5 separate regions of the Homo sapiens genome follow, and all the other regions are linked to region 1. The links are contacts of gene promoters, found by promoter capture Hi-C in blood cells and fetal thymus (Javierre and others, 2016). All regions are on one chromosome and are shown on one strand. The core of a region is centred on a gene start or on the middle of the fragment in contact, and the rest is flanking DNA. Distances in the headings are between cores, read along the strand shown. Region 1 holds the start of C1orf174 (chromosome 1 open reading frame 174). Region 2 has its middle 2.5 kb from the start of FAAP20. Region 3 holds the start of PANK4 (pantothenate kinase 4 (inactive)). Region 4 overlaps RER1 (retention in endoplasmic reticulum sorting receptor 1). Region 5 holds the start of PRXL2B (peroxiredoxin like 2B).

Region 1 (2,700 bases), core at 79-2,578:
CCGTCTCAAAAAACAAACAAACAAACAAAAAAACCCACAACAGAACAGTGGTCCTCAGCTTTACAAACACCTCCCTCAGCGGCGGCCAAAGAGGACGCATCACAGCAGCCCAGGCCTGCTAGGGGCGTGTTTGCTGGAGGAGGCGTGGCCGCCGTGTGTCCATCCAGACCTGATAGGGCGCGGCCATTGGAGGAGGCGTGGCCGCTGCGGGTCCACCCAGGCCTGCTAGGGGCGTGGCCATTGGAAAAGGCGTGGCCCCTGCGAGTCCACGTTGGCCCCGGAGAGTAACGGGACGGCGGAGGGGTCATTTCCCGCCTTGCACGTAACGGGGGACGAAAACCGGCCCCCAGCCCGACGCCGGACCCTGGCCTCCTGGGCCCACCGACGGCCTCCACTAAGGCCCCCTCCCGCCCGCAACGTGGGGGACAGCTGAGGCCACTTCCCGGGCGGGCCACCCCAACCCAAAGCGGCATGTCGCGGGGCAGCACAGCCTGCGACAAGCGCGCAAAGCTCCCCAGCGGGACCGCAGCACGGGCAGGCCTGGGAGTCCCTCGCGCTGCTCAAGGCCGCTAACCGGCACTCAGAAACCAGCGCTCTGCGGCACTGGAGAAAGCACTTCCCGCCCTCCTGCAGGCTGTTAGCCAGGGGATGCAAGGGGAGGGGCCCCTCACGGACGTCCCGCCCGCCCCTCTCAAACATGGCGGCCACAGGCGCACCAAAGGAAGAGCCCCTCACAAACATGGCCGTCCGCCCCTCTCATACATGGCGCCAAAGAGGCTTCAAGGGAAGCGCCCCTCACGAACATGGTTGCCTGCCCCTCTCAAACATAGCGGCCACAGGCGCACCAAGAGAAGCGCCCCTTACAAACATGGCCGTCTGCCCCTCTCAAACATGGTGGCCAAAGAGGCTTCAAGGGAAGAGCCCCTCAAGAACATGGTTGCTCCCCCCTCAAGAACATAGTTGCCCACCTCGCTCAAACATGGCGGCCACAGGTGCACCAAGGGAAGCGCCGTTCACGAACATGGCCGTCTGCCCCTTTCAAATATGGCGAACACAGAAGCTACAAAAAAAGCACCCCCCGCAAACATAATCTCTCAGGCCTGCCACGGGCGTGGGAAACATAGCGGCTACAGGGGTGCCAAGGGACGCGCCCTCATGAACATGGCCGGCCACAGGCCGACTTCCTGCTCCAGTGTCCCACCACTGGCCCAAGGCCTGTGACCTTCGCCCGCCGCTTACGAAAGAGCCAACACGGGGGGGGGGGGGGGGGGAATCACATGACGAGGGTGCTGCACTGTGATTGGCTGTGCTGACGTCGGACGCCGCCGCGGCGCGCTCTGCAGACTCCGGGTCGCCGCTCCGCCGGGACGCGTTGGCCGGGGCGCGCGGTGCTTGGCTGCGGTGCTCACACTCATGAGGAGCCGGAAGGTGAGGGCTGGGTCCCGGCAGCAGCTGCGCCGGGCAGGGCGGGGACTCTGGGTCACCTGCTGTCTGGAGAACCGGGGCGGGGTCACGGGGTGCCTGTGGCCTAGGAGCGGCCTCCGCTTGGGCCTCGCCCCCGGCAGTAGTTGGGGGGCTCCAGGCCACGCTCCCGGGAGAAGGAGGGCTGCCAGGTCACGCCCCTGTGAAAAGGGGGCTCCGGGCCACGCCCTCGGAAGAAGTGGAGCTCACAGGTCACGTCCCCGGGAGAAGGGGGCTCCCAGGTTACCCACCCCCGCAGAATGGGGCCTCTGGGCCACACCCCCGAGAGAAGGGGAGCTCCCAGGCCATGCCCGCGGGAGAAGGGGGGCTCCGGTCCACGCCCTCGGGAGAAGTGGAGCTCACAGTTCACGTCCTGGGCAACAGGGGGCTCCCAGGTCACGCCCCCTTGAAGGGAGGTTTCGGGCCACTTTCCTAGGAAGGTGGGGCACCCTCTCCAGAACTGGTTTCAACTCCTGGTAGTGCTAGATGCTGCAGAGCTGAGTTTGTGCCCCTCAACTGCTGCCACTCCAATGGACGTCACACAGCAAGTGACCTCAGCTTGGCCCCATCTACTGAATGTGCTAAAAGTGGGGTGATGAGGGATCCACCAAGAGGGTGGTGAGGATTGAAGGGGGGTGCCAGTGTCTGGCAAGGGGCAAGTGCTCATTGCGTGGGTGTAACAGTTAAGGCGAAGGACCCTTTTCACAGTGGACCCGGCGCGGGTCCCGGTCCACTTGGGAGGCTCTGAGCTGCATGGAGGCTCTCCTGGTTTGTTCAAATGGAGTGGCCACTTGTGAATTCCAACTCCTTTTACTATTTTTATCTTTGAACCAAAACTTGTCTCCTGTAGGCACATATACTTGGATCTTTTTTAAAATGCAGTCTGGTAGTTTCTGCCTTTTGATTGAATTGTTTAGCCCATGCACATTTAATATTATTGATACACTGTAGTTAGGTTTACATTTGCCATTTTACTTTTTCTTTTCTTTATACAAGTCTGTCTTTTTCTTCCCCTGTTCCTTCTTTAAGTGGATTAAAGTGAATATTTCCTAATGTAGCATTTTAATTTAATGATTTTTTTTCCACAACTTTTTTGGGTTTTTTCCAGTGCTTTATGTTTTACCGTATACAGCTTAATCTTCATATTCTCCATATACATCTTAAGCTTCAGATTTGTACTAGGTTAATTCCAAGTGATACAGAAATGTTACTCTTATATGGTTATTTTTGTGGTATTTT
Region 2 (2,700 bases), core at 96-2,595, 1.7 Mb after region 1:
ACGGCCACCGGGCTGCTTAGGCCTGCCAGCCTCAGGGCCCGTCACCGCTGTCTTAGCCTGATTTGCAGGGTGTCAGCGCTGGGCAGAGATGAACATTTGGGTGACTCTGAGGATGCCAGTGGCTGGGACACTTGTTCTTCCGCGGTGGAAGGAGTTGGAGAGGCCTGGCTCCCTGACCTACGGCCAGCCTGGCTTCTGAAACCAGCTCAGTGGGCTGGGGCCTGATTCATCATCCATAAATGTGTCCTTTTTTGCCACAGAGGGTAAGGGGCCTCCTAGCCCACCGGTCTGCAGGTGCGGGAGTAGGAGATGGGTGGCTCTGATGCCCCCACCCACTCGATCACCTTCTGCTCTGCCTGGGATGCAAACTCCCACAGCTGAAACGTTCTTTTGTAAACATGAATTTTGGCTTAGAAAAAACTCATTTCCACTGTGCACGTGTCAGTCCCAACCAGAAATTATTTTCCAATAAAGCAAAACTCCGTCACCACAGCAGCAGATGGCTCCGAAGAAGTGGAGCGTTTTCATCAGGTTCAACTTTGAAACCTCCACCATCACCATCACCAGCACCGCTGTGTCATGCTGATAACTTGAGGACAGGCAGGACAAGGTATGTTTGTTGGAGGTGAACATGCTTCCTTGTCTTGAGAGTCTTGAGTGGCCGGTCCCCTTCCAGGCCCTCGGCTGGCAGGCAGCTGTCGGGAAGCTGTCAGGCGGGAGGGGATTGGGGGTCAGGCTTCCTGACAAGTGGAGGCACCCGCCACGTGCCCAGAGCAGAGGTCACCCCAGTGCCTTTCTCTGTGGACTTATCTCTGGCTGTAGGTCACAGGGGCCTGCCCCACTGCCCCCTCCCCAGTGGTGACATGGGAGGAGGGGAGATTAATCCAGAGCAGCAGATAAACTGGAGGGGAAGAGCCCCCAGGAGGACAACTGTGACACGTTGTGCTGCCTCTGCGTCCCCAAAGCACCAGGCCCAGAGGCCCTGCCTTCTGCCCCATGGCACTGGCCTGGGGCCCTGGCTCCTCTTCCCTGGTGGCCAAGGGTAAATGAGGCCCACTGGGGTGGCTAAGACTCAAGGGGATGGGGGCCCCCCAGCTTCAGTGATGCGGGCTGGAGCCAGGCTCAGCCAGCCCTGAGGTCCCCTGCAGGCCCGTGCCTCCTACCCTTGGGGCACCCGCAGCGAGAGCTTCCCAAGCAGCCTGCGCCAGCCGGGCAGCGCAGGTGTCCCGGGTCTGGGTCACTTGAGACCCCGCCCTGCTTCTGCTCGGCTCTGCCCCTCTTGGGCCCAGTGGCCAGGGCACCTGCATGGGGGAGCCGGGAGGGGCTGGAAGGATGCTGAAGACCCCAGCAAAGCTCTAGTGTTTGGCTTTCCAGGGGTGGGGGCTGGGTCCTCCCGCCCAGAAAGGCCCCTGTTCTGGGGCAGCAGCCACACACAGGTGTCCCTCACATGGTCCTCCAGGACAGGGCAGGGGCCTGAGTTTCCCAGGCTCTGCCCAAGGGACCCAGGCAGGGAAGGAGATGGGTCCCAGGGGGCTCGGAGCCCATCCAGAGGCCGGCCGGTCCCATGGCAGGAGGGCACTGGACCATGTGGGGGCCATAGAGGAGGAGGAGGCAGGAGCCACCCCCGGGTCCAACAGCAGAACCCTGGGGTTGGGAGCCAGAGTGGGGAAGGGAGAGGAAGGAGCAAGAACACCCCCCACCACCCCCAGCACGGCACAGAGAGCTGAGCAAACACTTGTCACCAAGGGCTTTTCTCCTCTGTCTTTTTTTGTTTTTCGAGACAGAGTCTTGCTGTGATGCCCAAGCTGTTGTGCAGTGGTGCGATCTTGGCTCACCACAACCTATGCCTCCTAGGCTCAGGTGGTTTTCGTGCCTCAGCCACCCAAGTAGTTGGGATTAAAGGTGTGCACCACCATGCCCGGCTAATTTTTGTATTTTTAGTAGAGATGGGGTTTCTGCATGTTGGCCAGGCTGGTCTCAAACTCCTGGCCTCAAGTGATCCTCCCGACTTGGCCTCCCAAAGTGCTGGGATTGCAGGCTTGAGCCACCACACCTGGCCTATTTTTTTTTTTTTTTGAGTTGGGGTCTGGAGTGCAGTGGCACGATCTTGCCTCACTGCAGCCCCCACCTACCTGGGCTCAGGTGATCCTCCCACCTTAGCCACCCAAGTAGGTGGGACCACAGGCACATGCCACCATGCCCAGCTAATTTTTTATTTATAGAGACAAGGTCTTGCCATGTTGCCCAGGCTGGTCTCAAACTCCTGGGCTCAAGCAATCTGCCTGCCTGGACCTCCCCAAGTCCTAGAATTGCAGGCATGGGCTGCTGGGCCTGGCCTTTTCTCCTGTCTTGGGAGGCTGGGACCAGTCTTCCTGGAAGTACCCAAGGCCCTCCTGCAGACCATGGTGACATTTCCAGGAAAGACCCAGAAGCTCGGAGCTGAAGCCAGGGCAGCCAGGACTGTCGGGGAGCCCTGGACACTGGCTGTCTGAGAGCGCTTGGTCAGCTGGCACCTGCCATGTGGTGGACGTGGGGCTGCAGAGACCCCACGGCTGGGCTTCTCTCGCCTGAGAGCAGGCCCAGCCACAGGCTACCTCCCACAGGGCCCCCTGAGACCACACGGCCTGCAGCAGCTCCCCCAGGCCCCCTCCCCCTGCCCGGGCAGCACTCAGCGCTGCATCTCCATCTGCTCACTCAAGT
Region 3 (2,700 bases), core at 26-2,525, 1.4 Mb after region 1:
GCCCCGGGGTATGGTGGGCAGAGGACAGGGAAGGCCCCCATTCACCTGCATGTTTCCCGCATGTTCAGTGGGCACACAGGTGGGCGCCCCTCATGGAGGGCACCTCCTGCCAGCCTGGCCCATGGCACACCATGCTGCCAGGGGTCTGAGCTGCCAGAGGTCTAAGCCGCCTGGGGTGTGCTCCACTCTTCCACCCAGGCCTCCCTGGGGCAGGCTCCCCCTCCAGAGCCACACACCCACCCCCTTGGAAGACACAGGCAAGGATGCCTCCTCCCTGAAGGCTTGCCCTGCGCACACAGATGCATTATCCCTGGAGTTTGTGCCGCCCCACAGGCCTGTGCTCCCAGGAGCCCTGCCAGGCAGCTGGTGGCATTCTCCACGTGCAGACAGAGGCTGAGGGCCAGAGACATGCAGTAATGACCCCGGGTTACCCGGGAGGGGCTGATCTGTCTGCTTCCAACACTGGGCTTTTTCCCAAGGCGCCCAGAGCCTCTGGAGAAGACGCATCTCTTCATGCCAGCAGGGCTTCCCAGCCACTCACCCTGGAACCCTGGCCTGCCCCACCTATACCCCTGTCCTGGCTCCAGCTGCTTCCAAGGCTTGTTCCTGCAGCCTCCCAGGCACCTGTCTTGCCCACAGGCAGCCTGCCTGGCTTCCCCCGACCACAGCACTTTCCACGGATCGCCATTACAGCACACATCTTCCCTACCCGCAGGTGCATGCCAGGCTGGGGCTCCTCCCAGGTGGGGCAGGGTTCCCCACTCCTCTGGTTTGCATGGGACTTTTAACATTGAAAGTCCCACGCCCCTGGGAAGCCAGGATTGAGTCACCCTAGCAAAGAGCGCATCACATTCGCCCTGGCGTGCAGGGCCAAGCTTACAGCAGGCACTCGCTGAAGGGCAGGGCTCTCTGACAGTCTGCAGACCCACGTGCCCCCTTAGAAGCAGGTGGGCGGCCTCTGCGGCCTCCCTCAGCAGGGCTCAGAGCACTTGAGTTAAGCCTGTGGACAGCGCGGTAAAAGAACATCAGTCCAGATGTTCTGTGCTGATGCGCGATCTCTGGAGGATAACCGCCCGCCCGCCCGCAGCCCCGGGCCTCTCGGACCCCTGCCCAGCACTGGCCCTAGCTCGCCCTGTAGCGGCCGAGACCTCAGAGGCCGGGGGTGGGGGAGGGAAGGGGCGGGGCCGGCGCCTCATTAACATAATCTATGCGAGGGGGCGTTTGGCAGTCAAATATATGCGCATATATCTCCATGGCTGATGAGCTGGCCGGGCACTTTCAAAATGGCGGAGTGTGGAGCGAGCGGCAGCGGGAGCAGCGGGGACAGTCTGGACAAGAGCATCACGCTGCCCCCCGACGAGATCTTCCGCAACCTGGAGAACGCCAAGCGCTTCGCCATCGACATAGGTAGCCGCAGGCCGGGCGCCGGGCGCGGGCTGCGGGGGCGGGCGGGGCGCCGGCGGTGGGCCGGCGAGCGGGGGCGGCGGGAAGGACGAAGGGCGGGGGCGCGGGCCTCGCGCACAGCCTCACGGGCCTTGTAGTCCGCGGGCCCGCGCACAGCCTCACGGGCCTTGTAGTCCGCAGGGTCGCTGATGCGCGGGCTCGGGGCGACGGCCGGACTACAGCTACCGGCAGGCGCCGCAGGGACCAGAGCGGGGCCTGCCGGGCCTGGTAGTTCGCGCGGCCGTCCTGGGTGGCTGGGGGCCGGGGTCCAGCGTTACCCGCCGCGAGGTGGGAGGGTCGGCGGAATTTTATGTCTTCGGCCACATCGGCATCTGGGCGCCCCGGCTCCGCCGCTTGGCTGGTGGCTGGCCTGAGATTTGGGGTCCTTAGTTCTGGTCGAGACGAGGACGAGCTCGGCGGGAAGCCCTTGGCAGAGTGGCCCCGAAAAGGCCGCGCGTTCCCGCGGCGTGGCCAGCTGTGGCCCGCGGGCCGGACAGTCCGTGCACAGGCCCCGCTCTCTGGAGAGTGGACGCCGGGCGTGAGTTCAGGCGGCCGTGGACGTGGGACCTGGGAACTCGTGCCTCTGGTTTAAAAGCCACCCGTGCCTTCCGTGGCCTTTAAGGCGGCCTGCACTTCTGCCCTGGCCTCTCCAGGGTCCGCTGCAGACCCTCCTGCCTGATGGCTGTGCTCTCAGTAATGACGGCGGGCCAGGCTCTGTTCTAGACCTTTTTCCCACGCTCCTGACTCCCGGACACCTCCCAGCCACCTCTAGGGGAGGAACGCGAATTACTCCCTTTTCGCAGATGAGGATACCAAGCCCCAGAAAGGTGAACTAATTTGCCCAGGGTCATCGGGCTAGAAAGTGGCAGAACCAGGATTTGAACCAGCCACTCCCTGCTCTCCTACTCTGCCCATGTTTCAGGCATGAGGGCTTCCTGGGGGCAGCTTCACCTGGAGAAACCCCCCTTGAATAGCCGCTGCGGCTTCACATACCTCTCCCTCTTAGCACTCATCTCGGTCGTAGGCTGAGTCTGCTTGTGTGTGAATCCCACAAGAGCAGCGGTGTGTCTTGTAGCCCCAGCCCCCGAAAAGGATGCCCAACCTGTCTTTGCCGCCCAGTAAATACTGGGATGAATGGGCCTGCCGCTGACTGCTTCCCACCTCCCTGGAAAAGCTGGGACTCAGAGAGACCCAGGCCATTCCCTCTGAGCTGTGTGCTCCTGGTGCATCTGACATGTTTGCTGCTGTGGTGTCCTC
Region 4 (2,700 bases), core at 83-2,582, 1.5 Mb after region 1:
CATATCCCGTTAAAAGCCAGAACCGCATTCTCAATTTCAAAAGCCTTAAATTTCTGTCGGGTGTGGTGGCTCACGCCTGCAATCCCAGCACTTTGGGAGGCCAAGGCGGGTGGATCACCTGAGGTCAGGAGTTCAAGACCAGCCTGGCCAACATGGTGAAACCTCGTCTCTACTAAAAATACAAAAATTAGCCAGGCATGGTGGCACATGCCTGTGATCCCAGCTGCTCGGGAAGCTGAAGTAAGAGAATCACTTGAACCCAGGAGGTGGAGGTTGCAGTGAGCCAAGATCAGGCCACTGCACTCCAGCCTGGGCGACAGAGTGAGACCCCATCTCAAAACAATAAATAAAAATATAAATGCTTTAACTTTCTTATACAAACAAGAAGTCTTTCTGCCTAAAAGCTTTTCCAGTCAGACGGCTGAACGCCAGATGTGAGGGCTAACTGATGTCTGTGTGTCCATCCCTGGCTGAACGCCGGATGTGAGGGCTAACTGATGTCTGTGTGTCCATCCTCGGCTGAACGCCGGATGTGAGGGCTAACTGATGTCTGTGTGTCCATCCTCGGCTGCAGGGCCACACCTGAAGAGACGCCAAATGAGGCACGAGCTTGGTTTCGAACGCAATAAAACTGACCTGTGGGTGCTGCACTCTTCCCGCCCCCTGCTCCTGCCTGAAGTCCCTGATTCAAGATTTCTAGGTCATTCTTTCCATCAGAGAATGGACCCAGTTCCAATTTAAAAACAAAAATAAATAAATAAATTAAGGTGTGTGCTTTAAACAAGGAAGTATCTTCTACAGTCCCCAGAGGAGAAAATAGCCCAGACAAGGCTTTCAACATGCCCTGCTCTGCACATAAGATTATGTAACCTCCTCTAAAGACCGACGAAGAATTCCCATCTTACAGGTTTGCTCCTAGAAACCCCGTGTTTACCAGCAAGTAAAGGAGCACCCAGGTGAAGTCTGAGACGACATCACCTGACCTAGGGGTGCCCGAAAACACACGAAGGAAACCCTCAAGACCCCCTTCGGTCACTGTCTCTCTTACTTGACTCGGCGTCTCAACCTGCACTGTGCTTTGGCCTCACACAAGGGAGAGCTCAGGAAAAGCTACATAAACCCTTTGGACGCCGAGTCATTCATGACACCCAAGGCATGGACTCTTCACCCAAGGAATGAGGCAGCCACAGAGCGCAACCTTGTCCTGAGCATCATGCAGCAGGGTCGGAGGGACACCAGCGGCTCCACTGTCCAGGCCTGGACGTGCCCAGGGCAGGGCCAGGCTGGGCTCAGGACGGCCTGGGTATACTGAGAAGCCTGGCGAGGCGACTCCGGGTGAATCATAAACAACCCTGTTCGTTAAAGACAGTCACTGAGATCTTTCTGACATTTGGCGTTTAGCTGAAAATTGATTACTAGAGACCACTTCCTGCAAGACAGACTGGATCAACAACATCCCCACAAACATCACGCCCAGGTAACGTGGACAGAGCCAAGTCTCGTCACTTCAGCCCACACCTACCTGCAGCAGGTAAACTCGAATCATGTAGACAAAGCTCAGGCCCAGTGTCACGACCCATCGCACAGCCGTGTAGGGTGTGGACTTGTCTAGCCAGGACTGATAAATCTAGAAAGACAAGAGTCCAAAAGCATGAAGCAGGTCCTGTAACTTCTGTACTGACCCTGCCACAAAATGTACCTTCTGCTAGGGTTGGCTTTCAATTTTTAAAACAGCTAAAAGAGTGAGTTAAAATAGCAAGAGATCATCTATGTATCAGCACAAAGAAGTGACTACAATTAATCCAAAGTTTATTTTCAATAATTCCTGAAGCAGGTTCATCTCTTAAGCAAGACTATTACAAAACAATCTCCTAGGAGACTGTGACATTGTGCTGGCCCCAAGGGATCACTATGGGGAAGACCCAGCCTCACCCCAAAGAGAGGACTGTGCATCTCAAAGTCCCCACCCTACAGCACAGCCCTTATCGTCACATCTCAAGTCAGCTCCCCCATCTGCAGCAGCCAGCAGCCAGCCTTGCCCCGCTCCCAGGCCCACTGGCCACAGCCTGAGCCCCAGCAGCCACACCCACATGTGTGTGCGTCCAGGCGGCTGTGGACATGACCGAAGGAGCCCTTAGTTTTATGTATTTATTTTTACAAATATACATATGTATGGTTTTTTATTTTAATTTAGAAATTTAATTTTCAAATTGTGAGAAATTTCCAAATTCACAAAAGTAAAAAGATTATAGAAGCTTACATATGCCTGTCACCCAACTTCATTAATCGCCAATCGCTTTTCATATGTGATTTAATTAAGGTGATGAATTTTTATTTGAGCCGGATCCTCAGCACCTGGAACTGCCGGTGACCCAAGCTTTTCCTGACAGAGGTTCGGACTCCAGCGTTCAAAGGCAGCTCTAGGTCCCTCACTCACCAAGCAATGCACACGCAGCCCACACAAGAGCCTCTCACCCTCAAGGACAGAACCGCCGAGCTGACACGGGGCAGGTGGGGCTACCAGCACCGGGGACGTGGGTGGCTGGGAGAGGGACAGCAAGAGCAGAACGGCAGCCACGGCCGCATCTGTCCTGCCTGGGAGCTGAGACTGGGTTTTATATTTTTAAAGCTTGGTAAAAGGAAAACAGAAACAGAAAACGCATATGTTTGATAGACCACGTGTGGCCCCAGAGCCCGATC
Region 5 (2,700 bases), core at 31-2,530, 1.3 Mb after region 1:
CCTGATGGGCCACGAGGCTCCACCCCACGAGGTGGTCTGGACACCGAGAGTAAGCCCCGGACGAGGTGGCTCATTACAGTCACCCAGCACCCAAGAGAAGGCCTGGCAGAAGGGCTGGTCAACAGTGCCACCAGAGCCGCCTTGCCCAGGAAGGCCCGAGTGGACAGCACCACAGAGGGCAGCAGGGAGAGGAGGTGGCAGGGAGCGGTGGGAACCCCTGGGCCCCCCACCCCACGCTACCCAAGGGTTCCCGCCCCCACTCACCGCTTGAAGCCTAGCTCCTTGTAAAGCTGCTTGCTCTCATCCAGGTAGAGCTCTGGAAAGCGGAAGCCACATGTGTGTGCCCCAGGCGCAGAACCAGCCCCCAACCCACTCACCACAAAGAATCGCCCTCCTCCTTCCGACCCTCTGTTCCTCTGCCCACCCTCCGTGCTCAGCCCACCCCCGCAGGGCAGGGAGGGGTAAAACGGGGCTGAGTGTCCCCCCTCCCCTCAGAAGAGGGGCTGAGTCCCAGAGGCAACAGGTGGAGCCGGCGGGGCAGAGCTCGTCCAGACTCTGCTGCTGGGCCCAGGTCTGTGCAGGGCACCACCCAGCCACCAGCTGCGGGGCGGGGAGGCAGGGAGAGATGAGGGACGCTGACCCGTGGGCATATCAAGGCCGCTCCAGCAGACAGAAGGGCCGGGGTTGGGCAGGAAAGGGCCCCGAACGCCCTGAGCTTAGGGAAGGGTATGTGCGCCGCCGCGGCGGGGAACAGGACGCACCTCCCGCGAAGTAGTCGCCGTCCAGGAACTCCTGCAGACCCAGGGCCTCGGGCCCTACGCCCACCAGGCGCACGCCGTGTTGGTCCAGGAGCCCAGCAAGGCTGCTGAGGTCCTGGGCGATCCAGCGGCACACCACGCACCCGAAGCGCCGCAGCCCGGCCACCACGCACGCGTGCTCCCGCCACAGGCTCCGCAGCTCCACGGCCTGCCGGGCGGCTGGGTCATGGGCGCGCCCCGTTGCCCCCAGCCCCGCCCAGGCCCCGCGGCCCCCACCACCCCATCGCTGCCAGGACGCCCGGGCAAGGAGCCAGGGACGCGCCCACCGCCCTGCGTCCACCCGGCCTCACCTCCCCGGTCACCGCATGCTTCAGGATGCACGCGCCCACGCGAGCAAGGTCCACCGTGCTCATGGCGGCCGCTGCCAGCCCTGGTTCCCGGCTCCCCGACTCCCTGTTCCCCGCTCCCGGCTCCTCGCTCCTGGATCCCCGCTCCCGGCTCATAGATCCAGCCCCAAGCCCCGCCCCGAGATGCCCCGGTCCCGCCTTTCTTGCTGCCGCCGAGGCCCCGCCCCTTCGGGCTCGTCTCCGCCCCGGGCCCGCCCCCAAGATGGCCGCAGCGCGCCCCGGCCACGCCCCCGACCGCACCCCGAGCCCTGCTCCGCCCCCTCGGATTCGCCCCTAGTCCCGCCTTGTTTCCCCTCCTACTCCAGGCCAAGCCTCGAGATCGCGGCGCCAAATCCTGGGTCCGCCTGCTTCGGTCCCTCCCGCCTCCTCAATCCGGGCCTTGCGGGACAGTTGCTGTCCCGCGTCCTGGTCCCGCCCCTAGCCCCGCCTCTCCGTTGGGCCGCCGACTTGGACCCCGTCGGCCATTGGCGCAGCAGGCGGAGCTGGGCGGTGCGGCCCTCGGTGCGCGGTGCGCCTGTGCGGAATGCGGCGGGAGGCGGGCAGCCGGCTCGGGGTCGTCCCGGGGGGCGCCGGGGAGCGGCTGGGTACGGTGGGCCCAGGGGTGGTCCAGGGAGCGGCGGGGGTCTCCCTGCGGCCTCGCGCGAGACTGGGCTGGACTCAGGGTTGAGGGGAGAGGGTGAGCGCAGGGGTCGCGGGCATAGGGGACCGCGGGCCGGGGTCTCCCGCGGGGCGGGGGTCCCAGCAGTGGGGGGCGGGGGGGTGCGAGGGCTTAGCCTTTCCACGTGGCCTGGTTTTCGCTTGAAAATCCCCGCAAATGCGGCAGCATCTCAATTATACATGGACGCGATGTCTTTAATCATGAAATACTGTTCATGTCGTGCCGGTTGCATATCAGCTTTTAACCCGCCAAACCTTGGGGCGAAATAGACCCCGGGGAGATAAGCACAGCTCCCAGAAGTGCACTGCGGGTCAGGTGCCTGGCAGATGCGTCCTGTTCCTCCCCCACTGCAGCCCTGTGATAGCTTTTGTCACCGAGTTGGGGTGAGGGCCGGGTCACAGCTTCACCCGGCCTGGGCTCCCACCTGAGCGGGCCCGGCCTGGCAGAGTCTGTGCTGCTGGCACGGGTCCTCACTCCCCAGGCCCCAGGACAGCTCCAGGGGCCTGGGCGGGCTGGAGAAGGAAGGGGGAGCCCCCACACTGTATTCCAAATAAAGAGAGGCCCCGGGGGGGTGCTGCTGCTTCGCCTGTGCCCTCGCCCTGGGGTGGTGAAGGTCCAGACTGCGAAACGGAAGTCGTCACTATGTCAGAAAGGGCAAAAAGCAAAACAAGGAAGGGGAAGCACTAGGAGGGAGGAGCTGTGGCAGCTCCAGAGCCCAGGAGTGCAGCCCCCAGAGACCAGGGCTACCCCTCTACCGTCTCGGGCTGTGCAGGAGGGGCCCTCTACCCTCTGGAGTTGTGCAGGAGGGGGCCCCTCTACCATCTGGGGCTGGGCAGGAAGGGCCCCCCCCCACCGTCTCAGGCTGTGCAGGAGGGGG

Evidence for each region. The method cuts DNA at HindIII sites, captures the fragments that hold promoters and counts their contacts. A CHiCAGO score of 5 or more calls a contact.
Region 2: a fragment that was not itself captured here is called in contact with the fragment with the promoter of C1orf174 in region 1 in 1 of 17 cell types (non-activated CD4 T cells); the score reaches 5.3 in non-activated CD4 T cells.
Region 3: a contact is called between the fragment with the promoter of PANK4 here and the fragment with the promoter of C1orf174 in region 1, in 1 of 17 cell types (neutrophils). The highest score is 5.9, in neutrophils.
Region 4: a fragment that was not itself captured here is called in contact with the fragment with the promoter of C1orf174 in region 1 in 1 of 17 cell types (neutrophils); the score reaches 6.0 in neutrophils.
Region 5: a contact is called between the fragment with the promoter of PRXL2B here and the fragment with the promoter of C1orf174 in region 1, in 1 of 17 cell types (neutrophils). The highest score is 8.6, in neutrophils.

The regions. Positions count from the first base shown.
Region 1 is chr1:3,898,900-3,901,599 of GRCh38, reverse strand. C1orf174 (chromosome 1 open reading frame 174) reads left to right here and starts at 1,328. Exons shown (of 4, transcript NM_207356.3): 1 at 1,328-1,428. The coding sequence starts at 1,414. LINC01134 (long intergenic non-protein coding RNA 1134) reads right to left here and starts at 1,196. Exons shown (of 4, transcript NR_024455.1): 1 at 969-1,196. RefSeq lists silencers at 248-427, 1,508-1,577 and enhancers at 628-887, 527-1,096, 1,097-1,665, 1,666-2,236. The HindIII fragment of the contact is 4,148 bases long and covers 1-2,628 here.
Region 2 is chr1:2,195,917-2,198,616 of GRCh38, reverse strand. It overlaps a transcript of FAAP20 not described here. Among named protein-coding and RNA genes, the nearest start is that of FAAP20, 2.5 kb to the right of the region's middle. RefSeq lists an enhancer at 2,211-2,700. The HindIII fragment of the contact is 4,227 bases long and covers 1-2,700 here.
Region 3 is chr1:2,525,171-2,527,870 of GRCh38, reverse strand. It overlaps PANK4 (pantothenate kinase 4 (inactive)), which reads left to right and starts at 1,275. Exons shown (of 19, transcript NM_018216.4): 1 at 1,275-1,407. The coding sequence starts at 1,284. RefSeq lists an enhancer at 528-1,248. The HindIII fragment of the contact is 7,457 bases long and covers 878-2,700 here.
Region 4 is chr1:2,396,043-2,398,742 of GRCh38, reverse strand. RER1 (retention in endoplasmic reticulum sorting receptor 1) reads right to left here. Exons shown (of 7, transcript NM_007033.5): 3 at 1,523-1,627. Among named protein-coding and RNA genes, the nearest start is that of RER1, 5.6 kb to the right of the region's middle. The HindIII fragment of the contact is 1,851 bases long and covers 407-2,257 here.
Region 5 is chr1:2,585,357-2,588,056 of GRCh38, reverse strand. PRXL2B (peroxiredoxin like 2B) reads right to left here and starts at 1,280. Exons shown (of 7, transcript NM_152371.5): 1 at 1,109-1,280; 2 at 762-966; 3 at 265-316. The coding sequence starts at 1,171. RefSeq lists an enhancer at 1-472. The HindIII fragment of the contact is 11,388 bases long and covers 1-2,700 here.